Linked DNA regions of Homo sapiens: region 1 is linked to region 2. The links are contacts of gene promoters, found by promoter capture Hi-C in blood cells and fetal thymus (Javierre and others, 2016). All regions are on one chromosome and are shown on one strand. The core of a region is centred on a gene start or on the middle of the fragment in contact, and the rest is flanking DNA. Distances in the headings are between cores, read along the strand shown.

Region 1 (4,684 bases), core at 1,093-3,592, 270 kb after region 2:
TGTTTCTGACTCAAAATGCCTGTTGCCTTTTCCAGGTCCCCATCTCAGCACCTGCCTCAGGCTGCAGTGCCACTAGTTTACACACGGGAAAACAGTTTCTAGAAACGATTTCTTTTTATTTTTATTTTGAGACGGCGGGGTCTCACTCTGTCACCCAGGCTGGAGTGCAGTGGCACAATATTGGTTCACTGCCACCTGTTCCTCTCAGGCTCAAGAGACCCTCCCACCTCAGCCTTTTGAAGTAGCTGGGACCACAGGTGTGTGCCACCAAACCCAGTTAATTTTTTGTGTTTTTGGTAAAGATGGGGTTTTACCATGTTGCCCAGACAGGTCTCAAACTCCTGAGCTCAGGCAATTCTCCTGCCTTGGCCTCCCAAAGTGCTGGAATTACAGGTATGAGTTACCATGCTCAGCCTCTAGAAATGATTTCTAATGTATGTAGCTGCAAATAGAACTGGGCCCAGTTTCTGAATGGCACTTTGAGTAACTTAGCTTCATCCTCCCAGCATTTTACATATCAGGAGACTGTGTATCAATAGCAACACACTTTTAAAAGTCAGGAACAAAGAAAGTAAGCAGCTGGTAGAAGGCTCCTTGCCCAACTACACTTCAAGTGTCCTCCTCTTATCACTTCTTGGCCTTTTGGCTAAGATCAAGAAGAAGAAGACCAGGCATAGGGGCTCACACCTGTAATCTTAGCATCTTGGGAGGCCAAGGCAGGAGGATCGCTTGAGCCCAGGAGTTCAAGACCAGCTGGAGCAACATAGCAAGACCTCATCTCTATTTTAAAAAAGAAAGCCAAAAGAAGAAGGAACAAAGGGGGAAAATGTTTTCTTCTCAGATAAAAATAAGGTTAAAGAACAAAACAAAAACCAACTTGAATAAATAAGCATTCAGGAAAACGTATCTGAGGCCAGATAGAGTGGCAGAGTAAAGACATGCATGTTTTATCCCGGTATTCAGAAGTTATATTTGGAAACTTCTTATACCCTGTTCCCACATTATCTGATAAAAAGCCAAAAATAGTTTTCGTCATTCCCTTACCAGAGGAAGGAGAAAATATCTCTGATATCTTTTATGGATTGAAATTAAAGATCTGAAGGTAAATCTTCCTGATGTTTTGCTATTTAGTATAACAAACATTGTAGAAGACGTTTAAAAACTATCACTAGGTTGTGATTAAATCCAGATTACTGTTTGAAGAGAAACAATATATTTTAAAGATAAATCATTCAAAAGTTTGTTTTGCTTTTTTTTTTTCCTGGGAACTTCATATTGTGCTTTCTTGCTAATTGCCAGAGCTGGGTTGGCCTTTTCAGTCACGCATCAGAGCATAACACTTGATAAACCGTCATCCCTCCTGGTGTATGGTCTCCAGGCCCAACAGAGCAGGCAGAATGGGAGAGAAGTAACTGCCTAAAGTTTGGAAAACTTTTTATTTTGAAGTAAGTTCAAACTTCCAAAAATGTTGAAAGAATAGTGTAGTAGAACAACTCCTGTATACCCGTACCGAGATTTACCAGGTTTAAAATTTTGGAACCTTTGCCCTGTCATTATCTGTGTGTGTGTGTACGTACGTGTGTGTTCTCACAGGCATGCACATACACATTTTTTCTTCTAGACCATTTGAGAGTAGGTCTCCTATATCTTGTTCCTCTAACATTTTTTCTTTTTTCTTCTTTTTTTTTTTTTTTTTGACGGAGTCTAACTCTGTTGTCCAGGCTGGAGTGCAGTGGCACGATCTCCGCTCACTGCAACCTCTGCCTCCCGGGTTTAAGCGATTCTCCTGCCTCAGCCTCCTGAGTAGCTGGGATTACAGGCGCGTGCCACCACGCCCAGCTAATTTTTGTATTTTTAGTAGAGACTTGGCTTCACCATGTTGGTCAGGCTGGTCTTGAACTCCTGACCTCGTGATCCACCCGCCTCGGCCTCCCAAAGTGTTGGGATTACAGGCGTGAGCCACTGCACCCGGCCCCTCTAACCTTTAATACTAATACTTCAGGGAAAATACCCAAGAGCAAGGATATTCTCATACATAATCACAGGACAGTTATCCAATTCGATTAATTTAATATAAGTACAATATTTTCATCTATTCCACAGCTCCTATTCTAAGTTTGTCAACTCTCCCAACAATGGAACTGACACAATTTTATAATAGGCACACTGAAAAATGAAACCATTTCCCACTTCTAAAACAGTGTAGAAAGCTTCTGAATTCTTAGTTTGCTAGAAAAATGAACCAGTTGCCTATCCGTAAACACCAAAAATAATTTATAATCAGCAGAAACATTAGAAACCCAACTTACCTCTGTGTTTCTGAGAAGTGGCGCTTCAGAGATGAAAGCAGCCAAGGTCATCAGTGGGATTTTGATGTGAACTTTGGTGCTGGGCTGTTGCTGCATATTTTCCAAAGTAAATAAGTCCCAATCCAAACACCAGGCAACCAGCTTGGTCAGCACAAACCCCCTCAGCTGTGCCTTTGATAACTGTAGAGTGGCTTGCAGCTCCTCATCTCCAGTTCTTAGAGCTGACACTTTGAGTATATGACGGTTACTGTGTTAGCATGCACACATAGCCTTGGTGCAGGAGCAGCCCCTCTTGAGGTCACCACATAAACAAGGCGCTCTTCAGGCCTCTGGGGACCAGGCTGCATTGAGGGTAGCTGAAAGTAGAGACCATGCATCTGCCTCCAACTGTGTCCTCTCTTCTGGGATGATCACAGCATCTGCCCTCCACCTGCTCTCCAGGACTGATGTGGCTGGCTCAGCTACTAGGCGGGTGTCCCTGTCCTTCCAAGAGCTCGTTCCTCAGTGAAAGGTGGAGGAGAGAGGACAAAATTAGTGGCTTACAGAATAAGGGGATTGTGGCATGGACCTTTCTTCAGTCAAGGGTTGCTGTGTTTGTTGCCAGTAGGTGCAGCCCAGCACTCCTGTCTGTTGTGGGACAGATAGGACTATTACTGAGCAGTGCCTCCCAAATTCAGGGCCACTTAGGCATTCGTGGGGATCTCTGAGGCTGTGATACATTTTGTGTTTATGGGTGTTTGTTTGTTTGTTTGTTTGTTTTGAGACAGAGTTTCGCGCTGCTGCCCATGCTGGAGTGCAGTGGTGCGATCTCAGCTCACTGCAACCTCTGTCTCCCAAGTTCAAGCGTTCTCCTGCCTCAGCCTCCTGAGTGGCTGAGATTACAGGCGCACACCACCATGTCCAACTAATTTTTTGTATTTTTAGTAGAGACGGGGTTTCACTATGTTGGCCAGGCTGGTGTTGAACTCCTGGAGTGAAGTGATCCTCCCGTCTCGGCCTCCCAAAGTGCTGGGATTACATGCGTGAGCCACCACGCCTGGCCCTATGTGTTTTTTGAGACAGGGTCTCACTCTGTTACCCAGGCTGGAGTGCAGTGGCGTGATCTTGGCTCACTGCAGCCTCAACCTCCCGAGCTGAAGCAATCCTCCTCACCTCAGCCCTGCAAGTAGCTGGGAATACAGGTGCACACCACCATGTCTAGCTAACTTTTGACTTTTTTGTAGAGACAGGGTCTCACTATGTTGCCTAGGCTGGTCTTGAACTCTTGGGCTCAAGTGATCCTCCTGCTTCAGCCTTGCAAAGTGCTGGGATTACAGGCATGAGTCACTGTGCCCGGCCTTATGATAATTTGTTTTTTAATTTGTGTTTTAAATTTTATGATCTAAAAAGTTTTAAGAATATTCTGGATTGTCTGGAAGATCAGCTTATCACAGAGACTGCTCCTCAAGAGCATGTTTGGGAGTGTCGGCACCCAGAGTCTATCTGAAGAGAGAATGTGACTCCTAGGAGAATCTGCGGGTGTGCAAGGGGCCCATGGGGGTGTCTGTGCATTGCTCCGTTTGAGAAATTCCAGAGTGTAAAGGTCCATTGTGTTCAGGACACAGACCGGTGGTTGTGTCTGAGTCTGATTTTGCACTCTAGCTTTTGTCAGAGCTGTCTTCTTAGAGCCTTCATCTGTCACATACAATACTGAGTCTTCAGCGTGGCACCACAGGCAGAGGCTGCTGTCTGTGCCCACACTCCTCGTGGGCCCACCTCCCTCATTCTCTGTCTTGTTCTCACACATGCAAAGCCCGGCCCCAGCACAGCCCTGGCACTTGCTATTCTTTCTGCCCAGGACACCATCCCTGCAGACCAGCAGGTGGCCGCTGCTCTCACTGTTCGCTCTTGGTTTCACCGAGGCGTCACCAGCCACCCTGGCTGAAATTGCCCCTTGGCCTCCAGCTCTCAGTATTCTGCTCTCTGAAATGAGGGTGACAGTTACACCTACTGCATGAGGTTGTTGTGAAAATTAAATGAGATACATTAATTTATCTCATTAATTAAATGAGAAAATTAAATGAGGTTAATGAATGTGTGGAAAGCACATAGAGTGGTGCCTGGCATTCAGAAAATGTTAGTCCTCATCATTTCATGGTATTACATATTTATTCACAGAAATGGTCTGGGAGGGGACACAGCATTCATTTTTCATTCTATGTACTTCTTTGTTTGACCTTTTTCTATGTGTATGTATTACTTTTGTTATTTTTAAAGCCAGTACCGGCCAGGTGTGGTGGCTCACACCTGTAATCCCAGCACTTTGAGAGGCCAAGGCGGGTGGATCACTTGAGGTCAGGAGTTCAAGACCAGCCTGACCAACATGGTAAAACCCC
Region 2 (5,093 bases), core at 1,221-3,720:
TGGCAGAACTGGCATTTGGATCCAGCCCCATCAAACTCCCACATTGCCTACCTGCTTCTTACAATGCCCAACTCCCACCTCTCTGTGTGGAAGGACTCTCCCATCCTGCATTCAGGTACTGGGAGTCTCCCATGTGCTAGGTGAAGAGGGGGATGCTGGCCAGCAAGGGAGGGGAGTGATGGTGTGGGGTGGGTGAGGAAAGGACTTCTATCAGGCATCGGCTGCACAGCAGAGGGTCTAACTCCACCCCACATGCCCCCTCCTGTGATGAGGCCCCTCTTCTATCCACCAGCAACACCAGCAGGCCCCAGGTGACACGGCCCAGCTTTCAACGATGGAGGCACATCCCTGAGGAAAAGGAGGACACGCCTGCCCACCTGCCCCAGACCCAGCACCTACCATGGATGCTGCTGCTTTTGCTCAGGGCACCTGCCAGGGCCTCTGCACCTGCCCCACAGAGCCCATTGTCTCGAAGGTCCAGCCGCTTGACATATGGATTGGAGCTCAATGAGGAAGCCAGAGCCCGGGCGCCCTGGGACAGACAGAGCAAACACACTGGCCACTATCCTGGCTCATGCTCCAGGGCTCAGCCCACTCCACATCCTCCAGCTGGAAAGCCCTCCCCTTCCCACCTGTTTTAAGTGACACCTGCTTCTCCTTTTAGGCTCTGTGAAGGTCTCCCCCCACCCCCAGCTCTCCCTGACCCCCCAGCGGGTTAGGAGCCTGCAGGATCCACAACCCTTAACGCCACCTGTCACAGCCTCAATCCCATCTGTCTCCCAGATGTGGAGGGTAGGGCATGACTGACACAGGCAGAAGCTGGGGAGTGTAGGGGACAGACACAGGGGCACTCCCATGGCTGCTGTCTCCCGAGGCCTCTCCCCGTAAGCCTGGATACAGTGTCCCTCCAGTGGTACCTGGGGCCCCAGGCCACGGTGCCGGAGGTTCAGCTCTTGGGCGCTCCCTTGGCGCAGAAAGCAGGAGATGGGCACAACACTATGGGCCCGGCAAGACCTCAGGTACAGTGTGTCCCTGACCAGTTCTCCAAGCCCATCGGTGCCTGGCAGGAGACAGGGGGACGAATGTGGACCCTGCACAGCTACAGCCACCTGTGTCCTCCCCTGCCCTGTGTCACTACCTGGCCTATGTTTTGCCTCTAGAAGCACTGCTTCCTGTGCTTCTTGGGACCACTGCTCCCATATGACAGATGAGGACATCAAGCCTCAGGCAACGCAAATCTTTTCCTTAAAGTCATACGGCTATCAAAAGAAAGCTGGACAACCTGGGCAACATAGCTAGACAAATTTTCTTTTTTTTTTTTTCGAGACAGACTCTTGCTCTGTCACCCAGGCTGGAATGCAGTGGCACGATCTCGGCTCACTGAAACCTCTGCCTCCCAGGTTCAAGCAATTCTCCTGCCTCAGCCTCCCGAGTAGCTGGGATTACAGGCGCCCACCACCACACTGGGCTAGTTTTTTGTATTTTCAGTAGAGACGGGGTTTCACCATGTTGGCCAGGCTGGTCTCGAACTCCTGACCTCAGGTGATCTGCCTGCCTGGGCCTCCCAAAGTGCTGTGATTACAGGCGTGAGCCACCCCACCCAGCCAAAAAATTTTTATATTAGCCAGACGTGGTGGTCTCCTGTAGTCCCAGCTACTCAGGAGGCTGAGGCAGAAGGCTCACTAGAGTGCAGAGTTCAAGGCTGCAGTGAGCTATTATCCTGCCACTGCACTGACGCCCGGGTGACAGAGCAAGACCCTGGCTCTAATAAATAAATAATTTATTTATATATTTATTTATTAATAAATATGAGCCCAAGCAACCCAATGTTGTTTGTAGTAGAAGTCATGGCTGGCCTGCGCTGAGCATCCCACAGCTAGTGGTGGTAGCTAATCCTGCCAGAGTCAGGCCTCTGCCTGTCTGATGCCAAATTGCATGCTGTGTCTTTTAACCTGGATTGCAGGCCACAAATGTTTTGTAAACATTTTACGGGAGAAAAAACCGAGATAGTTCTAAATTCCATACATCCATTAGCTTAGTTTTTCCTGTGGATTGGGAAAACCCGGCTCTGATTTCATTTCAGGGTGGGACAGCCCTTGGTGCACTGTCTGGCGGGATTTTGCATTTTATCCTGATGCTTCCAGGAGCAATGAAGGGAAGGCAGGGGGCTGGAGGCGCCCCGCAGGCGGGTACGTTCCCTGCTGGCCTTAGCCCCAGCCCGCCTCCCCCAACCCCTGCGGGAGAAGACCCCCAAAGGGGAGGAGTCGGGCCTGCCCCCTCCCCCGAGCACCTTCCGTCTCCAGGTCGGAGTCCCAATTGGCCTCGGGACCCTGCTCGGCCTCGGGGACCCCTGAAAGACGCCCACAGGCCACCATAGCCTCTTCTTTCTGCTCTTCATCCTCCCCAGACCTCTCACAGGAACCCCTCATGGTTACGACCCTCTCGCAGTCTCAGACACTGAGTCGGAGACAGCTTGACCCCGCGCCCAGAGCGCGGCCCGGGATTGTGGGCGGAGTCTGCGGCTGCGCTGACCAACCGAATGTGCCGTCCAGCAACAGGCACCCCCCACAGCCAATAGCGACGCGCTCTCCCGCGGCGGTCGCCCCGGCAACCCGGTGTTGTCGGTTGCCGTAGAAACTGTGGCCGGCTTGTGCTGAGGCTCCTCGCCCGGGCTGATACACTGCATGCGCCACAGACCATGCACCGGATTGGGCGCCTTGCTGCGTTTATCCCCCTGCCTCCCCTAGGCGGTTCCAGCATCGCCCCCCTTTCATGGAATGGGAAACATGCCTGACTCCAGAGCTTGTGTTTTCTTCACTGCACTTGGGAATGGCTTTTCAGGAGGGCCTGGGGAACTTCGCAGAGCCAGGTCACCCTCTCACTCTGTGGCTCTCAGTTCTCTTGCATGCGCTGGCCTTTGCATACGCTGTTCGCTCCCCTGGGAACCTCCATCCCCATCTTTGTCTGCTTGTTGAACTTCAGAATCTGCAAGCGTCAGCTCAGAAGTCACTTATTCCTGAAGCTTTACTCAGAGCCCCCCCGGGGCTGTTGCTGCCCTCAGGCCGTCTTCTCACAGCACTGATAACAGCTGTCCTTCCCCATCCTCTCACCACGTCCACTCCCACCGGAGGAAGTGAGGCCAGAGGGCAGGGACAGAGCTGCTGTTTTCTGTGTGCCACCAGGGCCCAGCAAAGAGAATGTAGGGAGGGTGGGAGGTGCAGGGCAGCTGGGGTTAGGGGCTGAAGGCTGGGTGTTGGAGGCTGGATCCTGCTTTAGTGGAAGTGTCCCTTTAACAGCGGCTGGCGTGGCCTGGCTCGGGCCCTGCTTTGCCTCCTGTTCAGCTGCGGCTGCAGCTGCCATGCTGACTCATGTGCCCGCAGCTAGCAGGAGCTGGCAGCATGGGCTCCCCAGGGGCCACAGCAGACTAGGGGCTTCTGGATTATAAAACGGAGAAGTATGTGATGACCAGGAACTGGTGGGGGGGCGCCCTGCAGAGGCTGCTGCAGTTTGGGATCGTCGTCTATGTGGTAGGGTAAGAGAGAAGAGCTTTTGGCCAGGCTGGAGGGGCAAGGGAAGAGGTCGGGGGTGGGGCTTGGTCCTGCTGGGTTGAAGTTGAGGGTTGGGCTGTTTAGGGGCTGGAGGGGAAGGGGCCATAATGGGACGGGGTGGGAGGTAGGCAATACAAGACAGGAGAGCAAGAACAAGCTGTGTGTTTGTCCTGTGTGTCCACCTGCCTGCTTCCCAGTCCCTCCCCACGGCCCCACCCAGGGGGCACAAGACATTGTCCTTAACATCTGTGAGAGCTGGAGCACTAGGCCCCCAGAGAGACCACCAGCTATATCTCCGGTCAGGGGAGTCTATAAGCTCGGAGCTGGGTCTACTGAGGCTGGGGGTGGGTGCTGGCTAGTGAAGGTGATTGTCTGAGGGCACTGGCTCTCTGATGCATGGCTGGAGCTTCTGTCTCGTTCAGGGAGTCTACAGTGGGAAGTGGGGCCAGAGAGGATGCTGGACTGGGAGCCTGTAGGGTGTGGGGAGAGAACTGAGCATGTAGGGCCCAGCTCTGCCCCGTCACTACACGCTGGGGGGACACCACACTGCCCATCTTCTCCTTCCCAGGTGGGCGCTCCTCGCCAAAAAAGGCTACCAGGAGCGGGACCTGGAACCCCAGATTTCCATCACAACCAAACTCAAAGGGGTTTCCGTGACTCAGATCAAGGAGCTTGGAAACCGGCTGTGGGATGTGGCCGACTTCGTGAAGCCACCTCAGGTGGGGGCCCTGATGTTGCTGACGGGGGCGCAAGTCCTTTCCCCACTGACAGCTTGAACACCCGCCATGCAGCCAGTGTGTGCGAGAGAGAAGCATGTGATGCCAAAGGTGGCTGCAGGTTCTCAGGAAGGGCTTCACAGAGGAGTGGCACCTGAACAGGACTTTCAGGGATGTGTAGGAGGTTTCTGGTAGAAAAAGGGATGGGTTGAGAAACCAGGCCAGAGAAACTGCATTTCCGAAGGCTGCCAACAGAAAAGAAGGGAGTGTTTGAGACTAATGGCTTGAGCTTGAGAGTGGTGTGGGAGGGGTGTGGTGGGGCCAGGGCGTGGAACTTCCTGTAGCCCTGCTCCCTGACCTGGGGCACCTCGGTCAGGTGCTCCTCCTCCACCCTTCTCAGCTGCATTTTCCTCTTCCCTCCACCCAGCTTATCCACAGCCTTAACTTCCACCCACCTCTGCTCCTCTGATTCCCAGGGTGTATGTAGCCCCAGTGAACACCTGCCCAGAGCACAGCTGTCTTCCAGGTGCACACTCATATGTCCAAAGATCAATTATTTCCCTCTCCTGGCATGGCCTCTGTGACATCCACTAGTCATGATGGCTGTGACATCCACTAGTGCCTCAGCCAGACCCATGACTCAGCCTCAACCCCTTCCTGTCCCTTCCAACATTTTTCACTACTGCCCATGCCATGCCTGCATGAGACTATGGCCTCCTAGAAGGCCCTTAGATGCCCCTCTCGCCTCCTCCCTACTGCTTGGTGCACACCACACAGCAGCCAAGCTGAACTTTCACACCAGGCATCATGAGAGCCTGCAGCCCCTGTT

Evidence for each region. Contacts are between HindIII fragments. The CHiCAGO score rates a contact against its expected background, and 5 or more counts as called.
Region 1: a contact is called between the fragment with the promoter of SERPIND1 here and the fragment with the promoter of LRRC74B in region 2, in 17 of 17 cell types (naive CD8 T cells, naive CD4 T cells, M0 macrophages and 14 more). The highest score is 14.9, in naive CD8 T cells.

The regions. Positions count from the first base shown.
Region 1 is chr22:20,771,771-20,776,454 of GRCh38, reverse strand. SERPIND1 (serpin family D member 1) reads right to left here and starts at 2,342. Exons shown (of 5, transcript NM_000185.4): 1 at 2,310-2,342. All of the region lies in intron 19 of PI4KA (phosphatidylinositol 4-kinase alpha), which reads left to right. The HindIII fragment of the contact is 9,953 bases long and covers 2,213-4,684 here.
Region 2 is chr22:21,043,323-21,048,415 of GRCh38, reverse strand. It overlaps LRRC74B (leucine rich repeat containing 74B), which reads right to left and starts at 2,470. Exons shown (of 10, transcript NM_001291006.2): 1 at 2,291-2,470; 2 at 918-1,060; 3 at 400-532. The coding sequence starts at 2,429. It also overlaps the pseudogene P2RX6P. The HindIII fragment of the contact is 8,622 bases long and covers 1-3,024 here.